3 separate regions of the Homo sapiens genome follow, and all the other regions are linked to region 1. Evidence: promoter capture Hi-C in 16 types of primary human blood cells and fetal thymus (Javierre and others, 2016). All regions are on one chromosome and are shown on one strand. Each heading gives the region's core, a stretch centred on a gene start or on the middle of the fragment in contact. The rest is flanking DNA. Distances are from core to core; before and after follow the strand shown.

The links. The method cuts DNA at HindIII sites, captures the fragments that hold promoters and counts their contacts. A CHiCAGO score of 5 or more calls a contact.
Region 2: a contact is called between a fragment that was not itself captured here and the fragment with the promoter of CPVL-AS1 in region 1, in 2 of 17 cell types (endothelial precursors and M1 macrophages). The highest score is 6.2, in endothelial precursors.
Region 3: a contact is called between a fragment that was not itself captured here and the fragment with the promoter of CPVL-AS1 in region 1, in 4 of 17 cell types (megakaryocytes, erythroblasts, total CD8 T cells and 1 more). The highest score is 6.7, in megakaryocytes.

The regions. Positions count from the first base shown.
Region 1 is chr7:29,078,959-29,081,981 of GRCh38, forward strand. It overlaps CPVL-AS1 (CPVL antisense RNA 1), which reads left to right and starts at 1,326. Exons shown (of 3, transcript XR_001744918.2): 1 at 1,326-1,370; 2 at 2,383-2,520. All of the region lies in intron 7 of CPVL (carboxypeptidase vitellogenic like), which reads right to left. The HindIII fragment of the contact is 9,422 bases long and covers 1-3,023 here.
Region 2 is chr7:28,950,623-28,953,454 of GRCh38, forward strand. TRIL (TLR4 interactor with leucine rich repeats) reads right to left here. Exons shown (of 1, transcript NM_014817.4): 1 at 2,736-2,832. Among named protein-coding and RNA genes, the nearest start is that of TRIL, 6.3 kb to the right of the region's middle. The HindIII fragment of the contact is 2,252 bases long and covers 404-2,655 here.
Region 3 is chr7:28,920,661-28,923,671 of GRCh38, forward strand. No RefSeq gene overlaps it. Among named protein-coding and RNA genes, the nearest start is that of TRIL, 36 kb to the right of the region's middle. The HindIII fragment of the contact is 1,025 bases long and covers 903-1,927 here.

The DNA of each region.
Region 1 (3,023 bases), core at 76-2,575:
CAAGAGTTAAAACAGCTTGAATGCTATCTAATAAAATTCAGCAAGTTCCAAGCCTTGAGAAATAATTGCATTCCAAAGACTTCAAGTCCTTATATCACTTGAAACTTCCACTTACTCTATAAAACTTAATGATCAAAGCCAAGTCTTTATGATTAAAACAGTCTTGGCCAGAAAGACAGAGACATTCAAGAAGCTAGAGAACTTCTTTTCTGTTTGTGTAAGGTTAATAACCTTAGAGATTCAGCATAAAATATGGAAGGGGATGTTTGACTCCCCTTCAGACACAAAGTGAATCTGAAGCAGGTCCTAGAGACAGTGCAAGTTCAAGGTGAGAGCACCCAGTTTGGTGAACAAGCATTTTGGTGAACAAGGCTGCACCACTAGCTCATTTCTTCACCACCATCTTCAGGCCCTGGAGTCTGACTGCTTAGGTTCCAATGCTGGCTCCTCCACTTTCTGGCTGGGTGACCTTGGTAAGGCATACCTAACCTCACTAAGCCTCGGTCACCTCACCTGTAAAATGGGAAGAATAATCATAGCACCTATTTCATAAGGCAGCTGTTAGGATTAAACGAGGTAATGCATAAAACAGTGCTTAGCATGATGTCTACCATACAGTCCATTCTCAATAAATATTCTCTAGTAAAATCTACAGATAAAATACATGAACTAGATGTTCTTGAAGTATCACTTCTAGCCATCAAATTACATGATCCCAAGCCCAGGCTAACAGGATGATGGTACAGGCTTACATAGAATGCTAATAATTATAAGCCTACTTCTAGAATCGCTCTCCCACCCCACCTTGGTTGCCACCCTTCTGTTTGCATGTTAGTGCTTGAAATTACCCTATTACAAATATCTACCCATCAGGTAGGCTCTGCTCTCTACTCAAATGCAAACATGTTGAGAGTCCACCCTATTGGGTTTAATTTATCAGATCCTTTCTATGGAACAATGAGTTGACAACAAGTCAGAATGGGGGACAGAAACAGAACAATCATGATACAGATGGAAGAAGCATGGAGAAATAGAAGCTGTGCACAATAGACTGAGGAGAGGATGGCTGAGGTGGGAAGATGGCCCTGGAAAACAACGGAGGCCAAAGGAGAGTCCCCAGGGCCTGGGACATAGTACAGGGAGAGAAGGGCAATGAAAGGGAGGCGAGAGGAGCAGAAAAGATCACTATTGGGTACTGAGCTTAATACCTGGGTGATGTAATAATATGTACAACAAACCCCTATGACACGTGTTTGTCTATGTAACAAACCTTCACATGTACACCCAAACCTAAAATAAAAATTTTAAAAAAAGAAAGGGGCTGGGCGCAGTGGCTTACATCTGTAATCTCAGCACTTTGGGAGACTGAGGTAGGCAGATCACCCAGTCAGGAGTTCAAGGCCAGCCTGTCCAACATAGTGAAACCCCATCTCTACTAAAAATACAAAAATTAGGCGGGCATGGTGGCACGTGCCTGTAATCCCAGCTACTCGGGAGGCTGAGGCAGGAGAATCACCTGAACCCGGGAATTGGAGGGTGCAGTGAGCTGAGATGGCAATGCTGCACTCCAGCTTAGGCATCAGAGTGACACTTTGTCTCAAAAAAAAAAAAAAAAAAAAGTAGGTGAAAAGATGCAGGAAATAAATATCAATATTTTTATTTTATCTAAAGGCAGCCATGCATGAACTCCATTCTATAATATTCATTAAGCACCGTGCTTAGTATTGAATAAGAAACAAACATGGCTCTCGCATACTGGGAGCTTGCCACCTAACCCAATGGGCCATGATGATTTCAATAAAGGTTGTCAGACACTGTACTTCCAACAGGGACTTCACCCATGCAGATGAAGATAAAGTGTCCCATTAAGCTCCCTAATTCATTTTTAAATAGCTTCAAAGTTTTGTCTCTATTGGGTTCTCAAATAAATTATGGTTGCAAAACTGTTTATAAAGAGAGTCTGCCCGTTTTTGCTGATGGAGAAGAGATGTTCTGTTTTAACCACATGCCCTGCTAGTTTGGAAGCGTTCCCATCCACTGCCACAACCTCCCACGTGCACTGACTCTTTCCCTTGAGCGGCACATAAAGCCACAGGCTCAGAGAACAATGGGCGGTCCCCCTGATCCTGTCACCTACCTGCCTTCCCGTGAGGGCTGTTTTGCTTTAACTTCTACCTGGGCTCATGTACAATTGAGAGGATGCTAAATGTGTCCGTGCCTCAAGAACAAGGGCAATCTCACTAATAGCTACTGGCTCAGAAAGGATAACACTTATAAAGAAAGTTAATTATGGGAATTAAACACAGCTTATTTCTCTTTTTGAAGTATGTTTTTTTCATGCCTTGAGGAGGGTGATTTACAGACACATTTGTCTCTTTTTAGAGAAAATTAATTCCAGTTGGTGTTCTGGGCAGAAATGAAGAGGAGGAGGAAGAAGACAAAGCAGCTTCTCCCCTTTCCTTTGCACTGAGGGCAGGCCCACGCCACTTTCTCTGGTGTGGCCACACCATCGTCCACACGGTGAGGCAGGGAGCCTGGGGTGGGTCCTGACACATTTTGCTGCTGTCCATATAAAAAACAAGCACAACTTCTAATGTCAACTGCTAAGCTCCATTTTTTTTTAGACAAAGTAACTATTGCTTTTAAAAATGATTTCAAAATAATAGACACAGAGTAGAGGGGGAAATGCCATATCCCAGCAATGAGTTAGCGGAGCTTCTATTAACACTTCAGCTCTTGTCTCCAGGCATTAGGCTGTATGCTTGGGAGTCATAATATATTAGCCCAGCTTTTCAGCATGAATGGTAATAATAGTCATCATGTGTTGGGTACTCACCACAGCCAGTCACTATGCTAATATCTGAGGAGGGTTATCTAATTAAATGCTCAAAACAACCCTATGCAGTAGGTACTATTATTATTTCCAGACTGCTTCACACCAAATCAAGGTTCTGAACAGCTGCTCCAGACCCCTTGAGCATCAGGCTCCTCTCATTCATAGCACACAAATGTGAAGATATTTA
Region 2 (2,832 bases), core at 280-2,779, 130 kb before region 1:
AGGACAAGGTGTGGAGAAGGAAACCAAAGGTATTTGTCAATAGAGACATTTAAGACTGAAAACAAACATTACAAAATGTTAACTATTACTGAGTGGTGCTAATATGGGTATTTGTTTTAATTTGTAATTATTTTAATTTCCTAAAGTAACAATCCTTAGAAGGACACAAGAGTTAGGAGAGAACGGAATAAGAGGATGGAGGCCACCATTCAAAGTGTGTTTCCACACACTTCAGTACCCATATACTAAGAGCCGAGTGTGAAATCAGCTGTGGGGTAAGAATTACTTAACCAAAAAAACTGTAATTTGGTAAACTGAAGCCTGCTACATGGCCACAGCTGGTCTTAATATGCAACAGGGCTGTCCTGTCGGCATTAACTATGGCACAGAGCTAGCATTATAAAGCTTTCATTAGTTTGAAAGAAATTTTGTGGATTTACATAGTTGAAAGATGCTGTTGCTTGAAATACTGGGGCATGACAATTTATTTCCCTCTAGCATCTGATACCATTTCACAGCCAAGTTATAAAGCCACTCACAGTTCTGTGTCAATTAGAAATCTCACCACCTGTAACTTAAAAATCTTTCCAACAGTTGTAATGGAATATTTAGATACTCTGCCCTAAGATAAAGCAAGCAGGTATCAGGAAACTATACGTTCTTTCCTAATTATTTCAGTAATTAAAATAGTTAAGCATAATCTCCAAATACCTCAGTCTCCCCATGCAAAATGAAAAGAATACTATTTGCCACATGACTGAAAAGGATGAAGTGACTTGAAATCCCTAGGAAAAAAAGTATTTGTGCATGCAAAGTATTGTTTTAAGTAAACTAAATAAAGGGACACTTGAAGATACTATCTATAAGTTAATGGGAAGGCAAATTGCCAAGGCAATCCTAAGCAAAAAGAACCAAGGTGGAGGCATCACGTTACCCGACTTTGCACTATGCGAGGCTACAGTAACCAAAACAGCATGGCACTGGTACAACAAAGGGCACATAGACTAATGGAACAGAATAGAGAGCTAAGAAATAAGGCTGCACATCTACAACTATCTGATCTTTGACAAAGCTGACAAAAACAAGCAAGGGGGGAAAGACTCCCTATTCAATAAATGGTGCTGGGATAACCAGGCAGCCATATGCAGAAGATTGAAACTGGACCCCTTCCTTATGCCATACATAAAAATCTACTCAAGATGGATTGAAGACTGAGATGTAAAACCCAAAACTATAAAATGCTGGAAGATAACCTAAGCAATACCATCCCATACATAGGCGTGGGCACAGATTTCATGACAAAGACACCAAAAACAACGGCAACAAAAGCAAAAATTGACAAATGGGATCTAATTAAACTTAAGAGCTGCTGTACAGCAAAAGAAACTATCAACAGAGTCAACAGACAAGCTACCATTGAATGGGAGAAAATATTTGCAAACTGTGCATCTGACAAAGCATCTGTAAGGAACTTAAATTTATAAGAGAAAAACAAACAACCCCATTAAAAAGTGGGCAAAGGACATGCACAGACACTTTTCAAAAGAATTACACAAATGTTTCAATTAACTAGAAAAAGAGGAGGAGAAGGGTTACCATAATTCCATTACCTGAATCCTCTGATTGGTTATGGCTTAAGCAGAAATGCCTTGTGTCTGAAACTTCTTAATCAAACAATTTGTTGCCCTGTGTAAATACTACTACCACTGCTACATCTCATATTTACTGAACATCTGTGGTGTATCTGGCGTTGTTGAATGCTACTTACCCATTTATGCCTCACAATAGCACTATGCAATCAGGATTCTTAGGCTGCTCATTTTAACTGATGAGGAAGCTGAGGTAGAAATTAGGTAAAAAGAATGAATGCAACCCTCTAATGACTAAGTGCCTTCATCACTTCCTTACCATCATTCCCAACTTTCATGATGCTATACTTTCTGAGGATGGTGACAATATTGATACTAGGCCATGGTCTGGAATTGGGAATAAACTTCTAGCACTAATATGCTTCATCACCATTTACCTTCCAGTCTTATAAGAACAGGAGGGAGTGCTTAAACACAAATAACAGGCAATTCAGTTCTCTCTTTTAATGGTTTCATATATGTTGCTGTAGTTTTGGTGACAATCAGGTGTGTGACAATTTAGTGAAGGTGTTCTGATCACATGCTAATTATTTATTACCTGGTAGCCCTGCAAAATCCCCTGCATTATGGAAGCAGTAATCCCATTGGTTGACCTGAAGGTCCCACAACATTACAGACTGGCCAGTGGCTCTTTCACTGAATACTCCTAACTCATACCAAGTTTATTCTTTTTTCCTTAGGAATGTTATCTTTTCATAAGCTGTGTAGTGACAAAAATCAAAAATTACTTCCAGCTCAAGATAATTCCTTCATATTTTTGACCATGAGAGCCAAAGGGCTTGACTTTTCATCAGTTTCCTTTAAACAGGCAATGCCTGCTGAGACCCGATCACCTGCACCTTGATGTCACTGGTGTCCAACAGCACTTTCATGCTGTGGCTGACCATCTGCTTTTAGAGCCATTTCATTGTTTCTTTGCACATAACATCACACATCCTTTTCTTAAAGTCCATACTCACCTATGAAAACGGAAATAAAAAACATTAAAAAGGACAGAAAGACATCAAGCTTATGTTTCATTTCCATAAATGGGAACTGCATTGTGTCATTATGAAAGTGTATAAAATATTTGGAAACTCCAACAAATTATCTCTATTAGTGGGTTTATTGACATAACTGGACATAACAATGTATAACATTTATTCATCTCCCACTGAAAGACTTCCCAGTGAAACTAAAGTAG
Region 3 (3,011 bases), core at 165-2,664, 160 kb before region 1:
AAATCTATGATTCACCCTTACCAAAAGTTTTGCAGAACTTCATTTTCATTAGTGTATGTTGTGGACTCATCTCACGTCTGGCCCCATTTCATGTCCCTACACTTTCCTTTCCTCCCTTTTCCTTATCCCGCACCCCAAAACCAATGTCTATTTTATATCATGTTATTTTAAACATTAGATATAGATTTCCAAAACCACCTTAAATGTTTTGATTCAAAGTTCTAATATACATACATGGAATCAGAGTGATTTTTAATAATTGTGGTGTACAAAACACTATGTGCCTTTTTGGATTGGCTTTGCAGGAAAAGACATTTTTTTAAATAAGATCAACAAATAAAGGAATAGCTAAATTGGAACTTGGAAGCAGAATTCCAAATTTCTTGCCTTAACTGGTGGCTCACACACTCCTCAGCAAGTAACGAAAATATTTTAGATCTGTGGTCAAGTAAGCTCCTCCATTTCATAAGTTCAAAAGCAAGAAAAATATCAGGGAATTAATACAAATTCTACTAAAACTTTTAGAGTACTCTGTTTTAGAGGGGCTCTATGATTGCTAATATTTAAAGCTATATATTGTGAAGTTCTAAAACGTAAGATGAATTACAACATTTCCCTAACCCACTTATCACATTTTCAGGGCATGTTACATTTCAGAGGGGCATATATTTGGTTCTTATAATTTGTTTACTTTGATTGTTTCATTATAAAAGAAATACAAGTTTGTGTTAATAAATGAATGATAAAGTAAAAGACAAAAGTCTTCATCCTCTTGCCCTGTCCTCACCTTAATCCCCAGAGGTTACGATTGTTAGCAACTTGGTAACTATCCTTCTAGATCTTTTCTATGTATAGATACATACAAATGCTTGAGCATTGATGTAATGTATATTATAAAAAGAAGCTTTCTATTTCAAATGGATCCAGTGGATACAACACAATTTACTTACCCATTCGGTTATTTAACATTTTCAATGTTTTCTCCCATTTGATTTCAGAGCTGAAGGGGAAAACAGAGAGTGGCATGTTAGCCCCTTATTAACGCCCATCATTTTGTATGCTCCTGTCCACATTCCATATTGAATCCTAGCACATCAGTGGATCATTCACTTACTCTCTCTTTCATCTACAGCAGGAACGTAATAAGAACAAAGATGGTCATACTCTAACAGTCACATCCCAGTGGCTTCATGTTCCCTGGACAGGACTGCATTCACCAATATGTATCCCAGTGCTTGTGATTATTATAGTACTGTGTGACATTTGCATTACATCTGTAAATTCCCAGAATGGCCACCAGAGGGAATCAACCACCCAGCGCATTCAGAGCTATTGAGTCTAGCGCCAATGACACTGGCTTAGCTCTTATCTCGAATGTGTGTCTGCTTACATTGGCTAGCATTTTTTAAAATTAGATTATATTTTTAAAATGGCCATTACTGAACTCCTCTCCAATTAATATACGGAACAATGCAGGCAAAGTGCTTCAGACAGTGCCTGGCTAAATAAACACAGTAAGTTATTATTGTTATTGTCATTCATAAGCCATTTTAAAAAGAAGAGAACCATTCCTTGCTGTGCTATTATCCCTAACAAATATTTCCTGGCAAAGGCTCATCTATTTAGTAACAGTCCAATGCATAGTTACCACGCCGCTCCCCAAAGTGCTTTGGTCTTGGTTGCTTGATTAACTTCAGGATAAATGAGTGGCCCTAGCCAAGAAGACTTTTACAATTTTTCATTCTTATTTTCTGTTAAATATATGTTGCCTTATATACCTCTCTCTCCCCCTCCGCATACAATAAAATGCATTTCATGAAATACACACATTATATAGACTCTTTCATCAGAGAATGGAGGGAGATATTCTGGAAAAATGCATTTTTTAGTTACCACCATCGCCAAGATAGACTTTTGGACAATATTAAGCTTGTTGTCACTCACAAACCTTATTCAAGCATGTCCATGCCAATGATGAATGGATACTTTCTCTAATAAGTGCTCACAAATACAGCTATGGGAGGATTCCACCAAATTTACCTCAATTTCCATTATTTCAATATGCATTTACACATATTCTGATGTTTATTGACCAATGCTCCGTAAAAATCCAAAGGCAAATGAGTGAATGATGGTAAGCCTCGAGACCACACGGTGGCGCTGTTTCATCATACTTGAGAGAGGCTTTAGCACTTTGCAGGAGACCACGGCCCCCTGAAAACAGAAGACCATGAATACAAGAATTGCCTTCCCTGTGTTACTCCAATTTGAATGAGAGAACCCAGTAGAGTTTAACATTTAGCATTAATTCGTATCTAAACAACAAAACAGCACCAAAATGCAAATGTGAGGAAATCATTGCTGAAAAGTGGGTTGTTGGAGAAATGATACATAAATGCTTCATGCTGTTAATTTATGCTACCACTTTTCATAGCAATACTGCAAGCTCTCCCTAGATGTGCGAGGTGTTTTCACTTTCATGCTTATATTTTGTTCTCCACATGATCCAGTGAAGCAAGCAAGGGGGCTTTGATCTCTATTTTACAGCTAAGGAAACTGAAACCTTTCCTGGCACCCAAAGATTGCAAAATCTTCTGCAGCACAAAAGAGTTTTTTGTGTCCTAACATCTCTCTGATGCTTGTGAGAAAGTGTAAATTCCAGTAGGCACTTTACCCAAGCCACCTTGAGGCTCTGGTTTTTTAGTTCATCCCACCCCAGGCCCAGGCAGATATGGTTGAATTCTAAGGTTTCCATTCTTTCCCATTGACCAGAGCAGGCTGGCACCCAAAGTGCTGATCAGGAAGAAGGCCCCTCTTCCACCACCATCACAGAATCCCCAAGGAGCTTGTCTTCCATCCTAGGCATGTAAAATGATTTACTATCTGCGCCCTTCAGCTGTAGAGCTGAAATCTGCATCCTGTACCTAGTCCCTCATGATAGGGAAGAGGTAGAAAACAAAACACCCTCCACTCATTTCTTATTCATAGAGCAGCCAATGTAAAATATGATT